2 separate regions of the Homo sapiens genome follow, and region 1 is linked to region 2. Evidence: promoter capture Hi-C in 16 types of primary human blood cells and fetal thymus (Javierre and others, 2016). All regions are on one chromosome and are shown on one strand. Each heading gives the region's core, a stretch centred on a gene start or on the middle of the fragment in contact. The rest is flanking DNA. Distances are from core to core; before and after follow the strand shown. Region 1 has its middle 63 kb from the start of MIR8088. Region 2 holds the start of GSPT2 (G1 to S phase transition 2).

Region 1 (5,442 bases), core at 1,232-3,731, 530 kb after region 2:
ATGTGTTACTACCTCAGTGGTGTGTTTTAATTGTGCTAATTCTGTTTGGAATGTGTCATGAACTTGTTGAAGTTCCTTAGAGCTTCCTTGTGAAAGAGGAAAAGTTCCCTTATCCCCTCACAGGGCATGTGATGTGGGTGTGGCTTGCTTCTTCAGTGCCTGCTGCTCAAACCTCTAGGGGGAGCATGCAGACAGGCATGTTGTGGGGCTCTGACCCCAAGGCAGTGTCTAGGGGTGAATGCTTACAGCTCCTGAAGCCCCAGTGGGAGTGTGTTACAAGGTGCTCTTTTAGTTTAGCCATCTGTAGGCAGCTTGTGTTAGCTCAATTAGACTCCCTACCTTATCGCGAGGACAGAGGGCTTTCTGTATGCCAGGATTTCTTGCCTTGGTGTACTGGAAGAATCAGATCACATGTGGGTTTGGAGAATGAATGCAATGTTTTATTGAGTGGAAGTTCTCAGCAGATGGATGTTGCAGGAAGTCAGGGACCCCAAACGGAGGGACTGGCTGAAGCCACGGCAGAAGAACGTAAATTGTGAAGATTTCATGGATATTTATTGGTTCCCCAAATTAATACTTTTATAATTTCTTATGCCTGTCTTTACTGCAATCTCTGAACATAAATTGTGAAGATTTCATGGACATTTATTACTTCTCCAATCAATAATCTTATAATTTCCTATGCCTGTCTTTACTTTAATCTCTTAATCCTGTCATCTTTGTAAGCTGAAGATGTATGTCACCTCAGGACCCTGTGATGATTGCGTTATCTGCACACATTGTTTGAAAAGCACGTGTGTTTGAACAATATGAAATCTGGGCACCTTGAAAAGAACAGGATAACAGCGATTTTCAGGGAACAAGGAAGATAACCATAAAGTCTGACTGCCTGTGAGGCCGGGCAGAACAGAGTCATATTTCTCTTCTTTCAGAAAGTGAATAGGAGAAATATCGCTGAATTATTTTCTCAGCAAGGAATAACCCTGGTAAATGCATATCTGATTGCCTTCTTTAGAGAGGCTCATCAGAAACTCAAAAGAATGCAACCATTTATTTGTCTCTTATCTACCTATGACCTGGAAGTCTCCTCCCTGCTTCGAGTTGTCCAGCCTTTGCTTCGAGTTGTCCCGCCTTTTCCAGACTGAACCAATGTTCATCTTACATATGTTGATTGATGTTGCATGTCCCCCTAAAATATATAAAACCAAACTGTGCTCTGACCACCTTGGGGACATGTCATCAGGACCTCCTGAGGCTGTGTCACAGGCATGTGTGCTCAGCCTTGGCAAAATAAACTTTCTAAATTAACTGAGACCTGTCTCAGATATTCAGGGTTCACAGTTATAATAGGTCAGTGTGTTGTTCCTCTCTAAGCTTATTATCTAATTGAAGTTTCATAAGTCTAGAGTCATTGTGGGGATTTTCGTGATGCTGATAGTTGAGTAATCTAGTTTAGGAACTTTGTCCTGACAGGTAGAGTATATAGTGTTTGATCATTGGAATATTAATTCTTTTTGTATAAAATAACCATCAATAAATAGTGGTCTTTCTAAGGCAGTTATATGTAGATTATGTCTTATCTTTCTGTGTAATTGCCATTGTGTCTTATGCCATTGAGTCTCCTCCTCTTAATTCAAGTAGATTTAATATACATTGCCCTGAATCCTGATGCTTTGGATGTATCCAATTTAACTATAGACATTTTGTCCCAATTTTCTGTGAATAATTTTCCTGATGTGTATAATGTTCCTTATGTCATTCCAAGTCTGAGTTAGTAAAATACTTAGCCTAATACACTGTGTTTGCAGCAAGTTTTTCACCATAAAGTTTCTTAATGTAAATAGGTTAGTTTTTAGGTGTTTAACTTGTGATCAATATTGTAATTGAATTCCTTTTGGGATTCTGGGAGGTCGTGTGTATGAGTCATCATTGACTATATCTCGTTAATTGCCTATGAGATAGATGAAAGTATAGATGTGGTAGTTGTTTGCAGGAGTTACGTTTATGTTCATAGGTCTGTATTAACTTCCTAAATTTTTGCTTCTTGTATTCCTGAAATGACTGAGTTTGAAATAATTCCAATTGCTGCAAATAGTTGTGGTGGTTTTCTTAGATGATATTTATCTAGTGAAGGTAAATTTGGTAAAATGAACTGCTTGTCATATCCTTGTCCCTCAAATTACATAACTTGTGGTTTGATGTATGTGACTTTAAGTTCTTTTTTGAAAAATATTTTGACTCTCCTAGGTGCTGGTTTGTAAATTAATCTTAATGGGTTAATTAGGATAGGTTCAACTAAATTTGGTTTTCATAATTTAGATAGAGGGTTTGTTATTCCTTTGGTACACTGTGGTGTCCAGTGGTGTGTTCCTAAGCAATGTGTCAGTCCAGCATCCTCTGCGAATTATGCATGGCCCAAGGTTCTGGGGTTTAACATAGCATTTTGCAAAAGAGATATCTCTAGCTACAAATACAGGTAAGTGGGAGTCTAGTTTGGCTATATTTTGATAAATAGGATGTTGGACTGACCATATAACTTTATTCTATGATCCATCAAATGGCTGAATCATGAAGAAAAAGTAATTTGACATACCTGAGTCTATTTTTGTGACTTTATCCATATTTATTTTGGTTCCTAGTGTTTCCCACCAGTTAATTGACTTAAATTGTGTATTGTTTCTATCTACATCTTCAAAATTAAAGTTTACATCATCCTGAATTACCAGTGGATACATTGTAAAAATAACTTGATTTTGTATATACTTAGTTTTCCTGGTAAATTTGTCTAATATAGTTATGTCTCTTGGTTCATTTCCTGTAAAGAATGTGCCAATAACCTCTGCTGTTTTGTAGGTCAGTGTGAATGGTCCAAGTACTAAGAGTGAGTTAGATAATAGCAGATTGTATATATCTGGTCTGTGAGTAGATGTGAATATTAATTGTTCCCATTTTGTTTGTTGTAATTTATCAAAAATAACTGTTTCTAATGTCCAGTTTCTAATGTCCATGGGTTTCTAGAAGATGTCGACATCCAGCAATCAGTAAATTTAGTAGGGATTTTCTATGTCATTGTATCTATTGTGATGACTGGGAACTAGTGTGGTTTTTGTGGTTGTGTCCAACATAAGCCTGCTTTGGTTTCTGTCACATTCCACCATAGAGTGGACTTTCCAGTTATGATAACATATCTGTCTACATTCTCTATAAACTCTTTGCTTATTGTGTAAAGGTAGTTTTGATATATTGTAGCCAAGTTTGCCATTTAATGTTGTAAATTTAGCATGTGTTTTATTATGCCAAAGTCTGAATTGTGCTGTGTCTGTTGGTTTGTTTTGTTTTGTAAAGCCTGTTGATCTTGGAACGTGTAACCATGTTAGTAAGCAACTTATAGTGTAGAATGGGCAAGGATAAGGTTTTCATCCGTGGGATAATGAAATGTAGCTTTAATATATGTAAAGTTAAGGTTAAAGCATATTAATGTTGGTTGTCCCTCAAAATGTATATCTTGTTGGGTAGTGTTGATTCTATTTTTTATCTTTATAAGTTCCTTATTTGTGGAGGGCAAGTATAAGTATACTTGTATTCAAGACAAGCTTTATCTACATACATTGTTTTAGTGTGTGTTTCAAAGGTAGTGTGTGTAAAGTGATAGTCAGCATTAGTTAAGATTACTGGGTGTCATCTATGTTTTCAATATAATTCTGCCAGTGAGAATTTTTTAGCCTTATTAAAGAATTGTTACTCCAGCTCTCTTTTGTCTAATAAAAAGAAAAAAGAAGAATTGTGAGACTGTCAAATAATTTTGGCTTTTTGCGTAATAATCATAAGATGAACAGGGTGGGTGAAGGCAAAATTTCCAAAAAACAGCAAGTTAGGAAAGTTAATTAGATGATAGTTATAGTATGTCTTATCCTCTTCTGTTGTTATTATATCATAATCTAATGGATATCCTAGTGGCATTGACACTTTTTCCTGTGGGGGTCTGATATATGGGTGTAAGATGAAGTGGTTGGTTTTGTAGCTATATTTAGTCTTGTGTCATCCCTTGAATCTACTTCATAATCATAATGTTCATTTCCTTCAAGTCCAGATTGGTACCAGAATTCATACCAACTATTAACAAATGACTTGTAGGAGTGTCGTATCATATCCAAGCATGTCATGTGAGATCTTCCAACATATGGTTCTATCTGTGGTACTATGATTGGGGATTGGTATGATATAGCGCTTCTTATGTAATGAACTGTTTTGATTGGCATGTCTGTTTCTATTAGCATTTCTCTACCTATTATGTGAGCCATCCATGGTTTGAGATGTTATTGAATGCTTCATTGTAGCTGCATAAGTTGGGGTGTCACATTTAGTCATGTCATTTATGCATTCTTCTAAAGTATGTTTAGGAATATGCGCAAAGATTCTATAAAGATACAATGATTGGAAGTGTGTGTAAAAGCTAAAAGCTCTTCAGGCATTGCTTTGGGTCAAATGAATATGAACAAAATAGTCTAATTGAAGCTCTAAGTATTCTTTTATCAGTCCCTTGACTTTCTAACAATTGTTCAAAAATGATATATTTTCATGAAGTATATATTGCGGAATTTGTTCTGGTAATCGTGTGATTTTAGGTGCTGTATGAGTTGGCACTGTTGGATATGTATGTGTTTGAGGCTCAGAAATTTTAATGGTTACTTTAGGAATAAACAGTAGTAGCAGTAGTAGTAGTAGTAGTAGTAGTAGTAGTAGTAGTAGTAGTAGTATCTGTTATTTCCCTTCTATATCTCCTAACATATTTTAAGCTATTTGCATCAATCTTATGTTTGCTATTAATTATCAGATGTATAGGCATTAAATATAGCACTGAAAACAAACTAAGATATAATAATCTATGTCATCCTAATATTTCTCTAAGTAGTATAGTCAAAGATTGCTTCCAGTAGTAGTATTGCTGCTGGGTTAGGTTGGGGTAGAACAAAGTAAGGTAGTTCTATGGGGTCTGTCCTCTCTTATTAAGCAGTTTAGCAATGCAACTTATATAATAGGTTAGTAGCCAAGCAAGACTTATGCAGTCATTGGGGTGTACACTTTCAACTAAACCTTCAATAGCTCCTAATGCTGCAGTTAGTTCATAAACGTAAGGAGCAGGAAGGTGGCAGTGGCGCCTAGATTCTACAAAGTCTGGTCTGAAATTCCAGTCCATGCCTGCCTGTATGGGCCAGTCTGCTTGAGCTAATTCCTGAAGGAAATCTGGTGAAGGGGCTCTGAAAGCTATAGGTGGCGAACATGAGGCTGAAGCTTAAAAGGAAGGAGGGCAAGGCGGGATATACATGGATGATGGAGATCCTGGAGAGGCTAAGTCCATATGCTGGGGATGCATTATAGCTGTCAGTCTGCAAATTATTAATCAAATAATATACTTAACAAGCAGATAGTGAAATTTGTAAT
Region 2 (5,515 bases), core at 826-3,325:
TCGTTCTAACAGTGAAGTATCCTCTGTTCTCTGAGATATCACTAAGTAGCAGTCATACCAATATGTTCATGACCAATGCATTCGACCCAGGTGAAGGAAAAATCCCAGATGTCTCCTGCTTCCTTGCATGAATTACCTTATGTGAACACGGCTGCCAAAACCTTGACAGGTTCTCCCAGAAATGTCCATTCTAGGTTCACACAATGTCCAAGAAGGCTCCAGCACTTGTGTGGAGGGTCTCTCTGCACATTCTACCTCTCAGTTCTTCCTGTTTATTGTGAATAGGTGTGCACATTCTCTTTATGTCACTGTAAATAATTAATCCATAACCGGAGGCAAAAAGAATGAAGGTGTGGAAACAGTACAGAGCTAGTATAATAGTGGCAGCCCCAGAGTGAAAACATCAAGGGTCCAAGTCTGTCTTTTTTCCTACCCCTAAAGTCTGGAGAACACAATTCTCAAGTTATAATCAGGTACTTGGTTTTATAATATTTTGCTTTGTTGTTGGATTTAAATATCCAACTATGAGGCCAGGCGTGGTGGCTCATGCCTGTAATCCCAGCACTTTGGGAGGCCGAGGCAGGTGGATCACCTGAGGTCAGGAGTTCAAGACCAGTCTGGCCAACATGGTGAAACCCTGTCTCTACTAAAAATATATATTAAGAAAAATTAGCTGAGCTTGGTGGCGGACGCCTGTAATCCCAGCTACTCAGGAAGCTGAGGCAGGAGAATTGCTTGAACCCAGGAGGCAGAAGTTGCAGTGAGCTGAGATCATGCCACTGCACTCCAGCCTGGGCAACAAAAGTGAAACTTTGTCTCAAAATAAAAAAATAAATCCATCTATGTGACACCATCTTGTACTAAGCAGATTGTTTGGACTGAATAGTCTTTCTAGGTATGTCACAAAACCTGAATTCATAAAAGCAAAAGGTGACAGATTTGAGTACATGAAGACTAAAAACAGATTCAGAGAATAAGTTTGTATTTTCTATGTCAGTTTGCACTAAATTAATTTACAAACAAGGTCGCTGAGGCTTTGACTCAACTGTTAACACTTTCTGAGAGTGAGATTCTTTTGATTAGGGTCTTAAGGTCTTTGTTCATCTCAGAAGTCTTAATTGGTTTAATTAGGCTGACACCTACAGCCCTGTCTCATTACCATAAACTGTAGAGGGGTTCAACATGACACTGATTGTTTCTTAGAGCAAAGCCAGTGCAGTGAGTAGGATTCCAGGCCCCCCGGAATGAAGCAGGAAAACCCGAGGCCTGTGGATGCAGGATGTACTAGGGAGGTGCTGGGGAGTAGTGCAGATAAACCCAGAATTCAGTTGGTTGGTAAAACAAGAGTGATCTGAGTCCTGTGCTTGTCTACGTGATCCACCATTGAATGGCAGGCCAGCCATTGTGCAGGCATCTGCATATGAAGTGACTGGAAGCTTCACTGGAACAAGGATCTCCTTGGAAATTCTCTCCCCTCAGACAGCCAGGGTGCTTAACATGAAAAGAAGTTGTAACCCTATCCTTAAACTATAGAAGCCATCAGCAGAAGTTACAGGCTTATGGGGGCCCACTGGAAAGGGAAAATCAAAAGGCCTGTGGATTTCAAATTAATGAGTGATCTTAAGTTGCATTTCCTAAGTTCGGCTACAGACTCATATATTTCATGAGTCCCTCCCTACCCATTCCTTGCCTCTCCCTTCAGTTGCTGGGTTTCTGAATTTCTGTATAGTTAACCCTTATCTTGCCTCCCATTTGTTCAATAGAAATGATCACTTTTACTTGAATCTTTTGGTAGAATTGTATACCATGTGTTCCTGTCTAGGTTTAATCATCAGATTGTGGTCAAATTGCTCTGCCAGACTGTGTGAACAAAAAAGTGAATGGAAATTTTCGTTTTAAAAAATAATACTTTTGGACTTAGCCCGTGGCTAAGAAGAAGTAAGGAAGCCAAGCGTACGGATAGCAGCGAGGGGTCAATCCACGCCCGGCGTTGGGTCGGGGGTGGAGGAGTCGGAAGTGGTTGGGGTTTGGGGGAGGAGATCCGCTCACACACAAGAGGAGAGTGTTGAGCCGCCATATCTGCTGCTGCCGCCGCAGTTGCGAATGCAGCATCGGCGCTTAGCTGCCTCCGCGGTGCAGCTAAGGTTCGTGTCGCTACCCCTTGGCCCTTCGCTCTTGCTGCCTTAACCCCGCCGGCGGAGCCCGCTCTTCTGGCCTGTTGAGCCCGCTCCCTCACTGCCACACAGCAAGTTCCGAGACCATGGATTCGGGCAGCAGCAGCAGCGACTCGGCGCCCGATTGCTGGGACCAGGTGGACATGGAATCCCCGGGGTCGGCCCCGAGCGGGGATGGAGTCTCCTCTGCGGTGGCCGAGGCCCAGCGCGAGCCCCTCAGCTCGGCTTTCAGCCGTAAGCTCAACGTCAACGCCAAGCCCTTCGTGCCTAACGTACACGCCGCGGAGTTCGTGCCGTCCTTCCTGCGGGGCCCGACTCAGCCGCCCACCCTCCCGGCCGGCTCCGGCAGCAACGATGAAACCTGCACCGGCGCGGGATACCCTCAAGGTAAAAGGATGGGACGGGGGGCACCTGTGGAACCTTCCCGAGAGGAACCGTTAGTGTCGCTTGAAGGTTCCAATTCAGCCGTTACCATGGAACTTTCAGAACCTGTTGTAGAAAATGGAGAGGTGGAAATGGCCCTAGAAGAATCATGGGAGCACAGTAAAGAAGTAAGTGAAGCCGAGCCTGGGGGTGGTTCCTCGGGAGATTCAGGGCCCCCAGAAGAAAGTGGCCAGGAAATGATGGAGGAAAAAGAGGAAATAAGAAAATCCAAATCTGTGATCGTACCCTCAGGTGCACCTAAGAAAGAACACGTAAATGTAGTATTCATTGGCCATGTAGACGCTGGCAAGTCAACCATCGGAGGACAGATAATGTTTTTGACTGGAATGGTTGACAAAAGAACACTGGAGAAATATGAAAGAGAAGCTAAGGAAAAAAACAGAGAAACCTGGTATTTGTCCTGGGCCTTAGATACAAATCAGGAGGAACGAGACAAGGGTAAAACAGTCGAAGTGGGTCGTGCCTATTTTGAAACAGAAAGGAAACATTTCACAATTTTAGATGCCCCTGGCCACAAGAGTTTTGTCCCAAATATGATTGGTGGTGCTTCTCAAGCTGATTTGGCTGTGCTGGTCATCTCTGCCAGGAAAGGAGAGTTTGAAACTGGATTTGAAAAAGGTGGACAGACAAGAGAACATGCGATGTTGGCAAAAACGGCAGGGGTAAAACATTTAATAGTGCTTATTAATAAGATGGATGATCCCACAGTAAATTGGAGCATCGAGAGATATGAAGAATGTAAAGAAAAACTGGTGCCCTTTTTGAAAAAAGTAGGCTTCAGTCCAAAAAAGGACATTCACTTTATGCCCTGCTCAGGACTGACCGGAGCAAATATTAAAGAGCAGTCAGATTTCTGCCCTTGGTACACTGGATTACCATTTATTCCGTATTTGGATAACTTGCCAAACTTCAACAGATCAATTGATGGACCAATAAGACTGCCAATTGTGGATAAGTACAAAGATATGGGCACTGTGGTCCTGGGAAAGCTGGAATCCGGGTCCATTTTTAAAGGCCAGCAGCTCGTGATGATGCCAAACAAGCACAATGTAGAAGTTCTTGGAATACTTTCTGATGATACTGAAACTGATTTTGTAGCCCCAGGTGAAAACCTCAAAATCAGACTGAAGGGAATTGAAGAAGAAGAGATTCTTCCAGGATTCATACTTTGTGATCCTAGTAACCTCTGCCATTCTGGACGCACGTTTGATGTTCAGATAGTGATTATTGAGCACAAATCCATCATCTGCCCAGGTTATAATGCGGTGCTGCACATTCATACTTGTATTGAGGAAGTTGAGATAACAGCGTTAATCTCCTTGGTAGACAAAAAATCAGGAGAAAAAAGTAAGACACGACCCCGCTTCGTGAAACAAGATCAAGTATGCATTGCTCGTTTAAGGACAGCAGGAACCATCTGCCTCGAGACGTTCAAAGATTTTCCTCAGATGGGTCGTTTTACTTTAAGAGATGAGGGTAAGACCATTGCAATTGGAAAAGTTCTGAAATTGGTCCCAGAGAAGGACTAAGCAATTTTCTTGATGCCTCTGCAAGATACTGTGAGGAGAATTGACAGCAAAAGTTCACCACCTACTCTTATTTACTGCCCATTGATTGACTTTTCTTCATATTTTGCAAAGAGAAATTTCACAGCAAAAATTCATGTTTTGTCAGCTTTCTCATGTTGAGATCTGTTATGTCACTGATGAATTTACCCTCAAGTTTCCTTCCTCTGTACCACTCTGCTTCCTTGGACAATATCAGTAATAGCTTTGTAAGTGATGTGGACGTAATTGCCTACAGTAATGAAAAATTAATGTACTTTAATTTTTCATTTTCTTTTAGGATATTTAGACCACCCTTGTTCCACGCAAACCAGAGTGTGTCAGTGTTTGTGTGTGTGTTAAAATGATAACTAACATGTGAATAAAATACTCCATTTGAAACTCTTCGGTTATTTGAAATGCTTTTGAATAATGTTTAAATGTCATTATGTAATGCTATTCAATTAGCTTTATTACTTTCTCAAATAGTTGAATATGTTCTATCACTTAAAAACTTAAAAACTCTTCACCACTTACTGTTTTAAGTGAGGAATTTACAAACAATGCATAAGTGTGTATTAAAGGAATAATTTTAATTTTGAGAAAAAAACGTATGTTAAGGCTCTTCCCAGTGGGCTTTGTTTTCTCTGTCCAAGTCCAGTCAATAAAGGAGCTCTTCTGCTTCCCCACTTGTGATTTGAAAATGAAAGGCTCAGGCCGTCTTTATTTGTATAGCAGTAGTTCATGTAACATTATCCATAGGTTCTTGAAGACTACAACATTAAGCAAAACAATGTACAGCAGGTGTACATCGTACAACAATGCACAATGTATGACATTGTTCAATGTTGTTATGACATTGTTCAATGTTGTTATGACATTGTTCAATGTTGTTATGACCTTGTTCAATGTTGTTTAGTTATGACATTGTTCAATGTTGTTTAGTTATGACATTGTTCAATGTTGTTTAGTTATGACATTGATAAGGGGAAAAATTCATTTTGTTAGATGTTATTTCACTTGAAGTCACAATTTCCAAGAACCAGTGGACTATGTTAAGTGAGGACTTACTGTATTCCATCAGGTCCCATCACGTTAAGCATGGCCAAATTATAGGAGATTTGGACCATAGGTTTACAAGACTCTTTATTTTTTTAAAAGACAGGGTCTCACTCTGTCACCCAGGCTGGAGTGCAGTGGTGCAGTCATGGCTCACTGCAGCCTCAACCTCCCAGGCTCAAGCAATCCTCCCATCTCAGCCCCCCAAAGTGGTGGGATTACAGGCGTGAGCCACTGTGCCCAGCCTTGGCTAGACTCTTAACTGTACTCCATCATCTTAACAAACACAGCTCT

Evidence for each region. Contacts are between HindIII fragments. The CHiCAGO score rates a contact against its expected background, and 5 or more counts as called.
Region 1: a contact is called between a fragment that was not itself captured here and the fragment with the promoter of GSPT2 in region 2, in 2 of 17 cell types (non-activated CD4 T cells and M0 macrophages). The highest score is 9.1, in non-activated CD4 T cells.

The regions. Positions count from the first base shown.
Region 1 is chrX:52,271,249-52,276,690 of GRCh38, forward strand. No RefSeq gene overlaps it. Among named protein-coding and RNA genes, the nearest start is that of MIR8088, 63 kb to the right of the region's middle. The HindIII fragment of the contact is 2,219 bases long and covers 1,373-3,591 here.
Region 2 is chrX:51,741,367-51,746,881 of GRCh38, forward strand. It overlaps GSPT2 (G1 to S phase transition 2), which reads left to right and starts at 2,076. Exons shown (of 1, transcript NM_018094.5): 1 at 2,076-4,866. The coding sequence starts at 2,261. The coding sequence ends at 4,147. The HindIII fragment of the contact is 6,668 bases long and covers 1,435-5,515 here.